Linked DNA regions of Homo sapiens: all the other regions are linked to region 3. Evidence: promoter capture Hi-C in 16 types of primary human blood cells and fetal thymus (Javierre and others, 2016). All regions are on one chromosome and are shown on one strand. Each heading gives the region's core, a stretch centred on a gene start or on the middle of the fragment in contact. The rest is flanking DNA. Distances are from core to core; before and after follow the strand shown. Region 1 overlaps FAM204A (family with sequence similarity 204 member A). Region 2 has its middle 31 kb from the start of LINC02944. Region 3 holds the start of EMX2 (empty spiracles homeobox 2). Region 4 overlaps CASC2 (cancer susceptibility 2). Region 5 has its middle 18 kb from the start of LINC02944.

Evidence for each region. Contacts are between HindIII fragments. The CHiCAGO score rates a contact against its expected background, and 5 or more counts as called.
Region 1: a fragment that was not itself captured here is called in contact with the fragment with the promoter of EMX2 in region 3 in 1 of 17 cell types (endothelial precursors); the score reaches 6.0 in endothelial precursors.
Region 2: a contact is called between a fragment that was not itself captured here and the fragment with the promoter of EMX2 in region 3, in 2 of 17 cell types (endothelial precursors and M2 macrophages). The highest score is 6.7, in endothelial precursors.
Region 4: a fragment that was not itself captured here is called in contact with the fragment with the promoter of EMX2 in region 3 in 2 of 17 cell types (non-activated CD4 T cells and activated CD4 T cells); the score reaches 5.7 in non-activated CD4 T cells.
Region 5: a fragment that was not itself captured here is called in contact with the fragment with the promoter of EMX2 in region 3 in 6 of 17 cell types (total CD4 T cells, non-activated CD4 T cells, activated CD4 T cells and 3 more); the score reaches 7.4 in total CD4 T cells.

Annotation. Positions count from the first base shown.
Region 1 is chr10:118,314,545-118,317,244 of GRCh38, reverse strand. All of the region lies in intron 7 of FAM204A (family with sequence similarity 204 member A), which reads left to right. Among named protein-coding and RNA genes, the nearest start is that of FAM204A, 26 kb to the left of the region's middle. RefSeq lists an enhancer at 1,061-2,700. The HindIII fragment of the contact is 2,432 bases long and covers 152-2,583 here.
Region 2 is chr10:118,271,591-118,274,290 of GRCh38, reverse strand. No RefSeq gene overlaps it. Among named protein-coding and RNA genes, the nearest start is that of LINC02944, 31 kb to the right of the region's middle. The HindIII fragment of the contact is 803 bases long and covers 1,035-1,837 here.
Region 3 is chr10:117,541,460-117,544,159 of GRCh38, reverse strand. It overlaps EMX2 (empty spiracles homeobox 2), which reads right to left and starts at 1,414. Exons shown (of 3, transcript NM_004098.4): 1 at 487-1,414. The coding sequence starts at 892. It also overlaps EMX2OS. RefSeq lists an enhancer at 1-199. The HindIII fragment of the contact is 6,949 bases long and covers 1-2,700 here.
Region 4 is chr10:118,193,588-118,196,287 of GRCh38, reverse strand. The region is part of intron 3 of CASC2 (cancer susceptibility 2); the gene reads right to left. Among named protein-coding and RNA genes, the nearest start is that of LINC02944, 47 kb to the left of the region's middle. The HindIII fragment of the contact is 1,486 bases long and covers 675-2,160 here.
Region 5 is chr10:118,222,529-118,225,228 of GRCh38, reverse strand. No RefSeq gene overlaps it. Among named protein-coding and RNA genes, the nearest start is that of LINC02944, 18 kb to the left of the region's middle. The HindIII fragment of the contact is 4,713 bases long and covers 1-2,700 here.

The DNA.
Region 1 (2,700 bases), core at 118-2,617, 770 kb before region 3:
TTAATTGGTGGTAGTTGAAGCTTAGCACCCTTGGTTTCTTTCTTCATGATTGCCATTTTATTAGCAGCCAGTCATTAATTAATCTTTTTCTAATTAGCTTATAAAACTGTTGATGGCACATTATTGTAAATGTGATTTTAAGTTCAAAGCTTGTTAATAGGCTTTCTTACTTAGAAGAACAGAGATAAAGAAATTGCTGAAAACAGTACTACAGTTCTTTAAAAAACTGTCTTTCTTATGGGGGCTGTGTAAAGCATCTAACAGCTTATGGTTAATTTTTTAATGCTTTTTTCCCCTTATGAATGGCATAAGTTGCTTGAATATAAACGTCTGTATCCAGGAGTAATTTCAACAGTAGAACATCATCTTCTCCCTCCTTTGGAATACTGTAATCCACATATAATTTGAAGCCTTAATAGTCATCATTAAAACAGGTGTTATGTAAATGATTTCACTATGAAATCAGAGTATATGAATCATATATGCACATATACACACATATATGAATGATATGTGGATATACACATATAAAAGATATTTGTATATATATCTATTTGATGTGTTTTAAAAACAGGATTTGTTGGGTTATGCTTTGAAATAAAGTGATAGGAGTTGTAGGTATAAAAATAAATGATAGCTGTGTAAACGATCGTACATATATATAGATACATGTAGTATACAAACGTGCAAACATATGCAAACCTGTGCATGCACATTTTAAGATGACAGTGAAGTTAGGTTATATTTCTTAGGACAGAAAATGATTTGATTTAAAGAAGGAGTTAAGTGACTGGATATGGCCTAGCTTATTTGCTTCACCAGGGCTTTGGCATCTCAGGTGTGACCATGGAGGGAAAGGTACCAGTTCAAATGTAGATGTCTTGAATTTACTAGAGCACATAATATATTAAATTGTGGTTTGAGTGAAACACATTGGTCACATTATATTCTTTGTTGAAATATACCACCAGTTTCTTAAAACTCCTTCACTGCAAGGCATTGTGAGCTGTTTTTTAAAAATCAATATTAATGCAGAGTTTCGAAAGTTATTTTTTAAAAACACAGTGTTACCAGTCATTGGAAGTACTTTTTCTTATTTGCTTCTTGAACTTTGTATGTTATTTCAACTTTGGCTATTTCTTTGCTTGTTTTTTGGAAGGCATTTTATGATGCCATGCAAGAGACACTAGAAAGGGATAGCTGACAAGGAAAAAATTAAAAATTGGATAAAAAGTAAATGAATAATGTCATATTACTAAAAAGATGAGAGGCTAATTTGTGCCGACTTTTTGCTAATTTTGTTCAAGCCTCAAAATGAGGAGCTGTCACCCGTTCTGTGTAGCACTGATGACAGTGCCAATGATCCATGAAATAAGCTGCCGCTGGCTTTGTTCTGATAAGAATGAACAAATCTGCACCATGTTCGGCTCCCAGAATCTCATTTTCATACTTGCATGCAGGCTAAAAGAAATAAGCTGTTTGCAGGCTTGATTAATCAGACATTGGAGGGGTTTTTGTCTCTTTGATCTCTTTCGTCTCCTAGGTAACTTGCTTGACATTAATGTTGAGCTTGAGTAAAGACAATCAAGAATTGTCGACCAAACTGATATAAAAATTAAAGACCTTAACACTTTAAGTACTCCAGTAATGGTTCCGCTTTACTTCAGAAAACATCTGTTTTCATTTAATTAAAGAACAAAAGAGAATGGCATAAATATTTTTCATAGAGACCTATTATTCCATAAAAAGTTAAAGTATGATAATTGGTATTTTTAAATAAGTGCCTTGAAAGTGTTCAAAAGGGAGGAAAACTTTATAAATCTGTTACAAGCTAGTAATTTTGAGATGAGTAAAATTTACTCTGAAACGGATAAGAAATTTACAGTTATGCTAGATTAAGCGGTTTGAATCAGATACTTCAAATGATTATCAGCAAACTTTATAATGACAAGATTTTGCAAGAAAAACTAACTTTATTTTGAAGTTTGTCTTTTAAAAATCTGTACTGTGTTGCAAGGATGTGCCATTATATCTATTTTACAACCCAATATGATTTACACACGCTAAACCTGTAAAATTGAAAGGAATTAAAAAAATGTCGCCGTGCATTTGCTTGAGGTTATGCAGACGCTTTTACAAATCTTCCAAGTGGCTGTAAAGATGAATGCCTCAAGGGTCCAGCCAGGGCCCTGCTTTTCCAACCAGCTAAAGCCCTTATCTTAAATCCAAGCAAAGTACCATTAATCTTTTTGAAAGACCTTTTATGGCTTTTAATATATCCCAAATTAGAACATTTTACACCCTTGGTTCCTGAAATATGGTGATAAAAAGCCTTTAGAGCTTAATTTTCCTTACTGCATGCTCTGACCAATTTGCAGTTCTTTGTGATAATGTTTAGACACCTTAATTAAAATGCAGCAAAATATTGGATGTTCTATATGGAAAATGCTGATACTTTGGCTACACATACAAGAAATTTTGTATATATTTTATTCATTTAAAAAAATTTCTTTCCACGTTGTGTTGCTATAGTTATCTGATGACCCAAAACCATTTTTTAAATATTAAACCATTGACCAAGCTTTTGTGATGTTTACATTGAGCATGAAGATGCATTTTTCTTTTTATGGAAGTGGAAGGGGGATTCTTTTCGGCCTATTTTATTTGTTTGTAATACTGCAGCACAGCACGATATTCTTT
Region 2 (2,700 bases), core at 187-2,686, 730 kb before region 3:
AATAACCCATATTCATAACGATCTCCTGAATCGAGGGCTTTGCACTTGGTTTTCCCTCTGTCAGCCCGACTCCTCCCCTGCTTCAGGCCTGTACTCAAATGACCCCAATCTCAGTGAGGCCCATTCTGACCACCTTGTTCTATATTACACCCCACTGTGGCTCTAGGAGCACCTCTGTTTTTGTTTTGTTTTGTTTTTTCACAGCACTTGTTATCTTCTGACACACTATTGTTATCTATCTATCTATCTATCCATCATCCATCTATCCAGCTCTATCTCTCCTACCATCTGTCTGCCTATCACCCATCTCTCTATCCACCTATCATCTATTAATTTATCTATCCATCCATCCACCTATCTATGTGTCTATCTATGTATCTATGGATCTATCTATATCTATCATCTATCTATCTATCTATCTATCTATCTATCTATCTATCCATCCATCCATCCGTCTGCCTATTTATCCATCTATCTATGCTTTCATCCATCCATGTTTCTATCTACCCATCCATCTATTATTTATCCATCCATCTATCCATTCATCCACCCATGTATCTATCTATCTATCTTCCATCCATCCATTTATCCATCCATCTATCCATTCATCCACCCATGTATGTATGTATGTATGTATGTATGTATGTATGTGTCTATCTATCTATCTATCTATCATCTATTATCTATCATCTGTCATCTATCTATCTGTCATCTATCTATCTATCTATATCTATCTATCTATCTATCTATCTATCTATCTATCTATCTATCTATCTATCATCTATCTAATCATTTACTGTGGCTTTTGTGTGACTCCCTCACATTTTTGCTCCATGAGGGCGAGGATTTTTTTTTTTGTTTTTTAGTTTTTTTGTTTTTTTTTTGCCTGACAGAGCCCGTGGCCTGAGCATGACGTGAACTCTCTCATCTTTACACCTCTGCACCAAGCCAGGGTCTGGCACATGGAAGCCCCATTTCTTCCAGGCCTGGCCCCTTCTCAAGGATCTCTTGAGAGAATTTCCCACTGAAAAGCTTCTAGAAAAAACAGGATGAATTTGGTTTTTATTTTTTTTGTCATTTGTCCAATTTTCTTTGACTCTTTTTCTATTTCTTAGTGAATTCTTTACAAAGTCATTTACAAGATAGTCAGGATCCCTATGACATGAGTGACATAAAGAGGAAGAAAAGAGTTAGTATTGCAATTTACTCATCCATATGTATCTGTTTTAAAAAACTATAAAGGCAAAATTTAAAATTAGCAAACAAAAATGCCCCACATAACTTCAGCACCTTTTAGAAATACTGTTGCCATAGCAACTTGAGGCCGATCCTGGTGGTCACTTTGTGCCCAGTTCTATTGAAGCTGAAAATTACCATGGTCTTGTACGTATGCTCGGCCAGCACAGTAAAGACCAGGTTACAGAAAATTAAAACTTTTAGGTAGTGAAATTACTTTTTCGGGAAAAAAGGAAACCTCTCAAATCTAAGTGTTTTTCTTCTTTAAAAAAAAAAAAAGCATAATTTGTCGGACATTAAAATAACAAAAGGGCTTTGAGAAAGGATTATGGGTTTCTGATGTCTCACCACTAGAATAGATTTACTTTCTATCCGACTGATGTTGTAATCTTGCATTCTGAGGTAATGTTTTAGCTCTTTCTCTTCACATAAATAAAGATTTCCATGATAGCTCTTCATTCCTTTCTGGAGATTTCCTTTGGATTCCGCCCCCTCGGACTCTCAGACTTGTAAACTGTTTCACTGGGCCGGCGCACAAACTGGATGCAGAACTTGTCTCGGGCAGGGAACTCATTACCAGAGGTTTGTATGGCTACAAGCTTCAAATGAAAAAATGCTGAAAGTTTGGAGAGCTTGAATGGAGACGCTCGGCATCGGATGCTTTTCCTAACCAGGGGGAGGAGAAATTCAGTTTTTGAAATGGAGAGTTCAAAGTTCTGTTCTTAAACCAAAAGGCGCCTGGCCCTGGAATTTCTCTAAGCTCGAGGCTGCAGATGAATACTTTCTTGCGGGCAATTCCCATTTCAGAAAGAAAGCGCCTATGTTTACAACCCTGGCTTGCCTGCTAATCACATGCGCCTCTTTTCCCCCTTGGATCTCAGGCTGACTCGCCTGCAACTCTCTCCGGGCAGCATAGATTTAATTGGGGCTCAATCTCTTTAAAAATTCACATATATATTCCTTTCCATGTAAAGCAACTGCAGAAACTAGCTGGGCTTTGAATATCTTTTGAAGCCGAAACAACTGTGTGTAAATAAAGGGCTGTTATTTACCAACAGGGGAACAAAAAGCCCTGGGTACACCCTCAGCTCCCAGCTCGCGGAGGACTTCTCTCCCCAGCAACTTCATACTTATTAGCTTGATTGCCAACTTGGGTTTATTATTCACAAACTCACCCTGAGCTTGGCCTTTGAATGCAAAGAAAAAATGGTGTTTATGTTCCAGATTTTTTGGCTTTATTCTCATGACTGAAGTAAATGATGAAGTATTTTCTGCCTCAGCAGAAGCAGCAGGGAGGAAGTGCATGTTGTAATTACCTTAAACAAGCAGGCCATGGAGACGGCTTTTGGAACTGCGTGGAGGGGGCCCCAGAGGAGGTGGGGGACACCAGGCTGTTGGGTCTACACCCAGCCTTCTGTGTCTCTGCTCACTTGGACAGTAAAGGAGGGACTGCCTTGCAAAGGT
Region 3 (2,700 bases), core at 165-2,664:
AAGACTAAGAAGCCGCGGGTCTGGACTGAAGGGGCGCAAAGTGGGTGGTGAACAGGGTCGAACGCAGTCGAAAGCAAGCCTGGCGGCCGAGTCCTGTCCGCGCCCCTCGGAGCCAGGACGGTTGGGGGCATTGCCGAGGGTACCAGGAGCCTGGGGATCCCGCGGGCTCTGGGCTCCGCGGCGCCGGGCACGCACAGCCCAGCCTGCTCTGATTCGAGCGCACTGGGGGACAACTTCTCCGTTCGCACCCCTTCCCAAAGGGTCAAGCGGCCCGCAGGCCATCACTCCAAACCAGTCGTAGCTTCGGAGACTGGGGATCGACACCACGCCCGGCCCCGCGCCGCCTAGTTTCCCAACAGGGCGCGCTGGCCCGCGAGCCGGAGGAACCTCCGCCCAGGCCTTGCCAAGCGCCCACCCGGAGCAGGCCGGGGGCAGTGAAGGATGCGGCGGGAGCGGCGCGCTGCAGTTCCGCGACGTGGCACGTACCTTGGAAGCGATGACCCAGATATCGGTAGCGGTGGATGAGCCAGGGGTAGAAGGTGGACGGATCCCGCTGCTGCGAGGCGAATAGGGGGTGTGGCGAGTGCGAGGAGGGTAGGGGGTGGGCGGCCAGGGCGTGCGGCGGCGGCACCGGGTGCACTGGCACGGCGGGGTTGGGCGGGTGCGAGACCGCCTCGGCGAACACCAAGTCCGGGTTGGAGTAGACGCCCCTACCGGCGGCGGCGGCGGCGGCCGAGTGGAAGCCGTTGAGGAACGGATTTATGGGGCTGGAGTTAGCGTAGCTGAGTGCCGCGGGACGGATGGGGTCCTCGGAGCGCGAGGCGGGCAGGGGACTGTCCTTGGCCACCAGCGACTCGATGGTGAAGCAGCGCTTGGGCGCCGGCTGGAACATGCTGCGCCGAGGAGCGGGCGCCCTGGGCTCCCAGCTCCTGGCGACCGCCGCACGCTGCCTCCGCCGCCCGCTGCCCGCGGCGAGGACGGACGAGAATTGGGGACTCGTTTGTTTGGGGTGGGGGTGGGGGTGGGGGGAAGGAAAGGAAGAAAGAAAGGAAAGGAAAGGAAAAAGGAAAGGAGGGGGGAGGGAGAGGGAGAGGCAAAGCCGAGGATCCCGAGAATCTTGCACCAAACGCGCCCAACCTGAAGAGAGGGGGGAAAATCCTTCCAGAAGAATTTGCAGGCGTGGATTGGGGTAATTTTTTTTCTTTTTTTTTCTTTTTTTTTCTTTTTTTTTTTTTTTTTTTTTTTTGGCGAGATGGCGTGGGGGGATCGGAGTTAGAGGCAGGGAGGAGAAGGGGGGAAAGTTCTCGGGGGAGGCAAAAAAAAAAAAAAGTTTTTTCTCCTCTGCAAAAGGCGGGCAGGGCGCCCTAAGTCCAAGGACAATCCATGGAAGTGTTCGCTTCTTCACAAGTTGTGCAAACGATTTGTTAGTTCATGAGCCTAATTAGTGCGGGGATCACATAAACAGCTTCCTCCGAAGCCTGGTAAATGGCTTGATGATTGGTCGCTATTACTCGCCCTGAGGTGGAAGGGGGGAGACTCTTTAAAGTGCGTCAGAGGGAGGTGAGCGCCTGGGAACCCGGAGGCCTGGATCCGGGCCGAGAGTGGAACGGAGTCGGCGCCGCCGCCTCGGCTGAGCCTTCTGCCGCCCACCGGGCGGCCGGGCTTCTCCGCGCCTTCGCCCCTCGCTCCCAGCTCACTCGCTCCTGCGGCGCCCGCTGCGGCTTCTCCTCCTCCTTCGCCTCCTCCTCTTCCTCCAGTTTCTTCTTCTCCTCCTCCTCCTCTTCTTCCTCCTCCTCCTCTTCTTCCTCCTCCTCTTTCCCCACCTACTCCCCCTCAGCCACCGCCTCCTCCTCCACCAGCACCACTCCCTCCGGGGCACCCCGGTCCCTGCAGAGTCCCTGGCCGGCGCCGCCTCCGCTGCGGCCCCCTGAATCCCGAGCCTGCCTCGCCCAAGCTGGTAGGACAGAAGGACAGACAGATTCCTCTAGCCTAGCGCTCCGCCGCTGCTGCCTTACGCGGCCCCGCGTCGGGAGAACTGGGATCGCCCCAAGAGCACCGCGAGGGTAAGCGGGCAGGGGCTGGTTCCCGGGCTAAAGGCGCCGTTCGGTTATACCAATCCCCACACTTAGCAAAACTCCCAGCGGTTTCCTAGGCCAGGAGGGATCCTGGAGTGAGGGGTACGGGGTCCTCCCACCCCATCAACCACGCTTAGCCTCGAGGTCCCAGGGTCGGTGCGTTCGCGATTCTTGACCCGGCTCGTTCGTTTGCGAGTTGAGACCGGGAGCTGCCGACCCCGCCGGAGCAGTGGGCTTCCAACTCTCTCCCTCTCTCGCCCCACGGTCTCTAGCGTTTTCTGTCTGGGAGGGTGCTCACCTCCTTCCCCAAAACAATTCCTTCTGGAATATCTGGGACCGGCAGTCCAAGGTCAGGGGAGAGCCCGATATGGTGCTACTGTACTATTAAGGTTCCGTCGTAATTATTTTTGTCAGTGTGGTCAATGTTATTATTATTATAGATGATATTATTTTATTATTATTATTTCTATTATTATTATTATGCCATCTGTTGTCCCGGGGTTGGTGGGGGGGTGGTGGTTGCTGTGCAAACCCAGTGCAACTAACGACTACGGATCGCATCTCCGGTCCCGGGCCGTGTCCGCATTTTCGAGCTCGCCTTCGGTTTTGGGATGATTTTAGGACC
Region 4 (2,700 bases), core at 168-2,667, 650 kb before region 3:
TTAAAGCTGTGATGAGATACCGCTACAAATCTATCAAATTAAATTAATTAAAAGGCTGACTATACCCAATGTTAGTGAGGAGGTGAAGAAATTAGAACTCTCATACAATGGTATAATTGATGTGGAAAACAGTTTGCCAGTTTCTGAAAACATTAAATATCCACTTACTATATGATCCAGCCATTCCACTACTAGGTATCATTTATCCAAGAGCAACAAAAGCACATGTCCACAGGAAGACTTGTACATGACTTATACAATATGCTCATAGCATATTCATTTGCAATAGCAAAGATCTGGAAACAAAATGTCCATTAACAGGGGAATGAATAAATAAATTGGCAAAACCATACAATGGAATACTACTCAGCAATGAAAAAGAGAATGAACTATTGTTAGACACAACAACGTGATTGAATCCGAAATTAATAATGCTAGGTGAAAGAGTATCAACAAAATGAGAGTACACATTATATGATTTCACTAACATAAATTCTAGAAAAACTTAGTGTCAGAAAGCAGAACAGTGGTCACCTGGGGATGGGGAATGAACAAGTCAAAGAAAACTTTTGAGGGCGATGAATAAGTTCATTGTCTTGATTGTGTTGATGGTGTAGGTTCAACTTTGTCTAATTTTGCACTTTGTGTGCAATTTATTGTATTTTCATGAAGCTTTTAAAAAGCCAAACAAAAACTGGAAAAGTATATTTGCAACAGATATAAAAATTATATCTATAATAGATACAAAGTTAATATAAATTGACACAAAAACACTGATATTCTAACAGATAAACAGGCAAGGTCACACACAAATTTTAAAAATAATAAAAATATAGACTGGGTGAGGTGGCTCATGCATGTAATCCCAGCACTTTGAGAGGCCAAGGCGGGCAGATCACTTGAGGTCAAGCGTTTGAGACCAGCCTGGCCAACATGGTGAAACCCTGTCTCTACTGAAAATACAAAAATTAGCCAGGCATGGTGGCACCCGCACCGGTAATCCCAGTTACTTGGTCAGTCGAGGCAAGAGAATCGCTTGAACCTGGGAGGTGGAGGTTGCAGTGAGCTGAGATCACGCCACTGCACTCCAGCCTGGATGACAAAGTGAGACTCCACTTCAAAAATAAAAATAAAAATAAAAATAATAAAAATATGACCAGTATTTTAAATGAGAAAATGTTCATCCTCATGGAGAACTGAGAAAATGGAAATTAAAGCAACTCAAATATATCAATTTTTACTTTACAAATTAGGAAATATTAAATTTTTTTTTTAGAGACAGGGTCTCACTGTGTTGCCCAAGGTGGACAACCTACTGGTGCAGTAGCTATTCACCGGTGGTATCATGGCACACCATAGTCTTGACCTCCTGGCCTCAAGCCATTCTCCCACTTCAGTCTCCTGAGTAGCTGGGACTACAGGTTCATGGCTGGAAATATTTTTAAATGATAAAAACAATGTTCATTAAGGTATGATAAAATAGTCTCTCACATATTGCTAGTGAGCATATACATTTATATTATTCTTTTGGACAACAATTTGGCAATGTGGATTTCACATAACAAACAACCTGAGCCTTGAAAATGGACCTGATATTGATGCAGTAATTCTACGACTGGGAATCCATCCTAAGGAAAAAAGTTCCAAAAATGGAAATCCACCTTCTTTCCCACAAAGATATTCATGGCAATAATACTTTTAATAAGGTAGTCTTGGAAACAATGTAAAATTGAACCACAAGGGATCTTTATGTTATTGTTATATCAATTTCCTGAAAAATTATACAACCATATAAATTCTATTTATAAAGATTTCATAATAACTTGGAGAACTAGGGGAAAATATTATAATATTAAAAATAAAAAACAAAAAGTACACAAAATCACAGTATGATTACAACTGTTTTGTTAAGAAGTGTTTTTACAAGAAAAAACATGTTAAATAAAGATTACATTTGAATGCAGCAAGAAGTTGACAATAGTTTTCTTTGGGATTCTAAATGTATAGCTGAATTTGTTTTCCTTCTTTATGTTACTCTCACATTTCCAATTTTTATGTGGCTATTGAACTTTTGTATTAAGAGGAAAATAAATCTTTTTAAAAAAGAAGCAGAAAGTCTGACCAGTTCTTCACAGATTTTACAATTTGAGAATAAAAGCTTTAATTACATTTTTCTTCCTAGTTATTTGGAGACTGTTCAATATAGGCTGTTTCTACTCCCAAATTGATACTGGAAAGAATCGGTATTTATCTGTTTCCCATTTCCCGTTTTTTGTCATTTCTCATCTTTGTCACCAACCCTCTGTGTGACAAGGTATTTTGTTTGTTTGTTTTTTAATCTAAGTTTCTTCATCTTCTCAATGAGAGAATTGAACTGTTACATTCCTGCATCACATATTTCCAGAACATCTGCTCTGGGCAGGCCTTCAAGATGGGAGTAGGGGCAGCTGGAGAACCTATGAAGCTCCCAGTCCAAGATTCCCACTAGACAGCTCATGTGGAAAGCAGGTTTCTGAGAAGGGGTGATTTTCCATGGGCCATCCTCAGGGGATGAGACTGGCATCAGAGTAGAAAAAACGCACTCACCGAGAAGGGTGAAAATAGCTCACAGATCAGCAGGGTAAACGCACCCTGCTGGGCATGTCCACCTCTAAGCCAAAAGGACAAATAAGTTGGGAGGAAAAATTTTTTAAAGATCAG
Region 5 (2,700 bases), core at 93-2,592, 680 kb before region 3:
TTTGAAGTAAATTTCTTATGGACAAGATATACTTGGGTGATATTTTTAAATCTACTTTGCCAATGTCTGGGTCTTTTAATTGGTGTATGCACACCATTTACATTTAAAATTATTATTGGCTTATTAGGCATTACATTTGCCACTTTATTTTATTTCTGATTCTCCCACTGTTTTTCATTTTTGTTTTCTGTTTCCTGACCTCCTGTGTTTCACTTGAACATTTTTTTGGAATTCCATTTTGATTTATCTGAAGTGTTTTTAATATATCTCTTTTTATGGCTGTTTAAGTGGTCACTCCAGATATTATATTATATACACATAACTTATCAGTCTACCTGTGTGATCTTTTTACTAGTTTAAGTGATGTGTAGAAACATTATTTCCCTTTATGTCCATTTATCCTTCCCCGTATAATAAAATTGTGTTAAATATTTTCTTTAGTATATTTGGGACCACATTAGACAGTATTACAATTTTTGCTCCAATCATCAAACATAATTTAAAAGACTCAAAAAGAGAAATGAAGTCTCCCATATTTTTGCTTTTCATAATCTTTCCTTCTTGCTGATAGTCTAAGAGTCCTTTATCATTTTCTTTCTGTTTAGAAAACTTCTGTTAGCTATTCTTTTAGGGTAGGTCTGCTGGCAACAAATTCTCTTAGTTTTTCTCCATCTGAAAATGTTTTGATTTTCCCTTCATTCCTGAGGAATATTTTTTCTGGATATAGGATTCTGTGTTGACAGTTATTTTCTTTCAGCAGTTGATCAAGGTTATGCCACTTCCTTCTGGTCTCCGTGGTCTCTGTTAAGAATTTCATTACCACTAGCATTGTTTTCCTCCTATATGTAAGGTATTGTTTCTCTCTCATTGCTTTCAGGATTTTAAAATCTATCTTTAGTTTTAAGAAGTGTGACTATGATGTGTCTTGATGTAGATTTCTTTGGGGCCCTTCTGTTTTGAGTTCACTCTGTTTCTTGAACATAAAATTTATGTGTTTAGCCAAATTTGGGATGTTTTCAGTCAGTCACTCTTCCAGTACTTTTTTTTTTTTAACTTCATTCTCTTTTTCCTGTCTTTCTGGAATTCCAGTGGCACAAATATTAGATCTTTTATCAGTGTTCCATATGACTCTGAAGCTATGCTCATTTATTTTCTGTCTAATTTTTCTCCTTTGTTCAGGTCAGGTAATCCTATTGTTCTATCTTCAAATCCATTGATTCTTTCCTCTTTTCCCTCATTTTGCTTTTGTGCTTACCTATAGAGTTTTAAATTTGTTATTATATTTTTAGTTATGAAATTCCCATCTGGTTTTTCTTTATATTTATTTTGTATTGCTTGGCCAAGACTCTATTTTTTTATTCATTTCATGTTGTTCATAATTGCCCAGCAAAACATTCTCATCATGGCTGCTTTAAAATCTTAGTCAGATAATTTGAATATCTTTATCATCTCAGTGTAGGCATTTAATTGACTTTTTTCACTCAGTTTGAGATCATCCTGATTCTTGGAATGATGAACCATTTTGAAGAGAGGGCCTCACCTCCTATTGGTCAGGTAGGGGTGGAAATCCAGTTCCCTCTTGGCCTCTGTTGATACCCAACTTGGAGGGGAGAGGTTCCTTGTTAGGGCTAGTATGTGTGAGAGTTCTCATTCCTCATTAGGCCACTATTGACACCCCAGGGTGTGGTGGTCTCCAATTCCTGATTATTCAGGTCCCCTCTGATACCATTCCAATGGAGTCAGGGAATAGGGGCATTTCATTACTCTTAAGTGGGGGCTAAAGTTCAGGCTTCCCATATGGCCTTCACTGATTTCACATGGACATGATGGGGTTGGGGGTGGGGGAGCTCCTTATCACCTGGCAGGGATGAAAGTCCCAGCTACATAGCCATCTCTAACACCACTCCAGTGGGGATGGGGGTGGATTTTGGGTGTTTTCCTTGCAGCCTGGTGGGAATGGGCCCCATCCCCATCCATGACAGCAAAGGCCAAGTGGTAAACCTGGACTTCCACGTTTTCTGTGATGCTGTAGCGGAGTGATTGTTCACCAAAAGTGTTCTTTCTTGGTAGGCCACCCCTTACCTTGTCCGTTTGCTAGAGACAGCAGGTTTTTGCTAAGGCTTTTTTGTCTGTACCTATTTGCATTTCTAGGTTGCTGGCTTTTCCAGCATTCAGTCTGGGATACATGAATCAAAAAGAAAATCCATATAGCTCATCATTGTGTTGTTCGTCAGGTCTCCTGGCTCCTGGCCCATCTTCCTCCCTCCCCATCCACCTTTCAGAGCTTTCTGATATTTGTTTTGTATATAATGCTCAGGATTTTTAGTTGTATTTAGAAGAAAAAATAGGGAAAAGTACATCTGCTTCATTTTTCTAGAAGCTGAAGTTCCCACTTATCTTTATTTTTAAAGAAAATAAATATTTTACTTTCAATAATAATTTCAAAGATGCAGGTTGCACAGAAGTAAAACAAATACAGCCAAAATAAAGTGAACTTAGATGTGAGGGATGGAGATAAATACTCAGCAAATTCTTTTAAAGAGGTCTTCAATCGTTAAGACTGTTTAAAACCCTTACTAAATAAAAACAATGCTCCCTTATATTTAGAGTTCTTTATAGTTTCTTAAGTAATTCCTCATCTGTTATCCTATTTGATCCTACTAGGAATCTTGCAAAGGAGGTAAGGCAAATAACCTTATT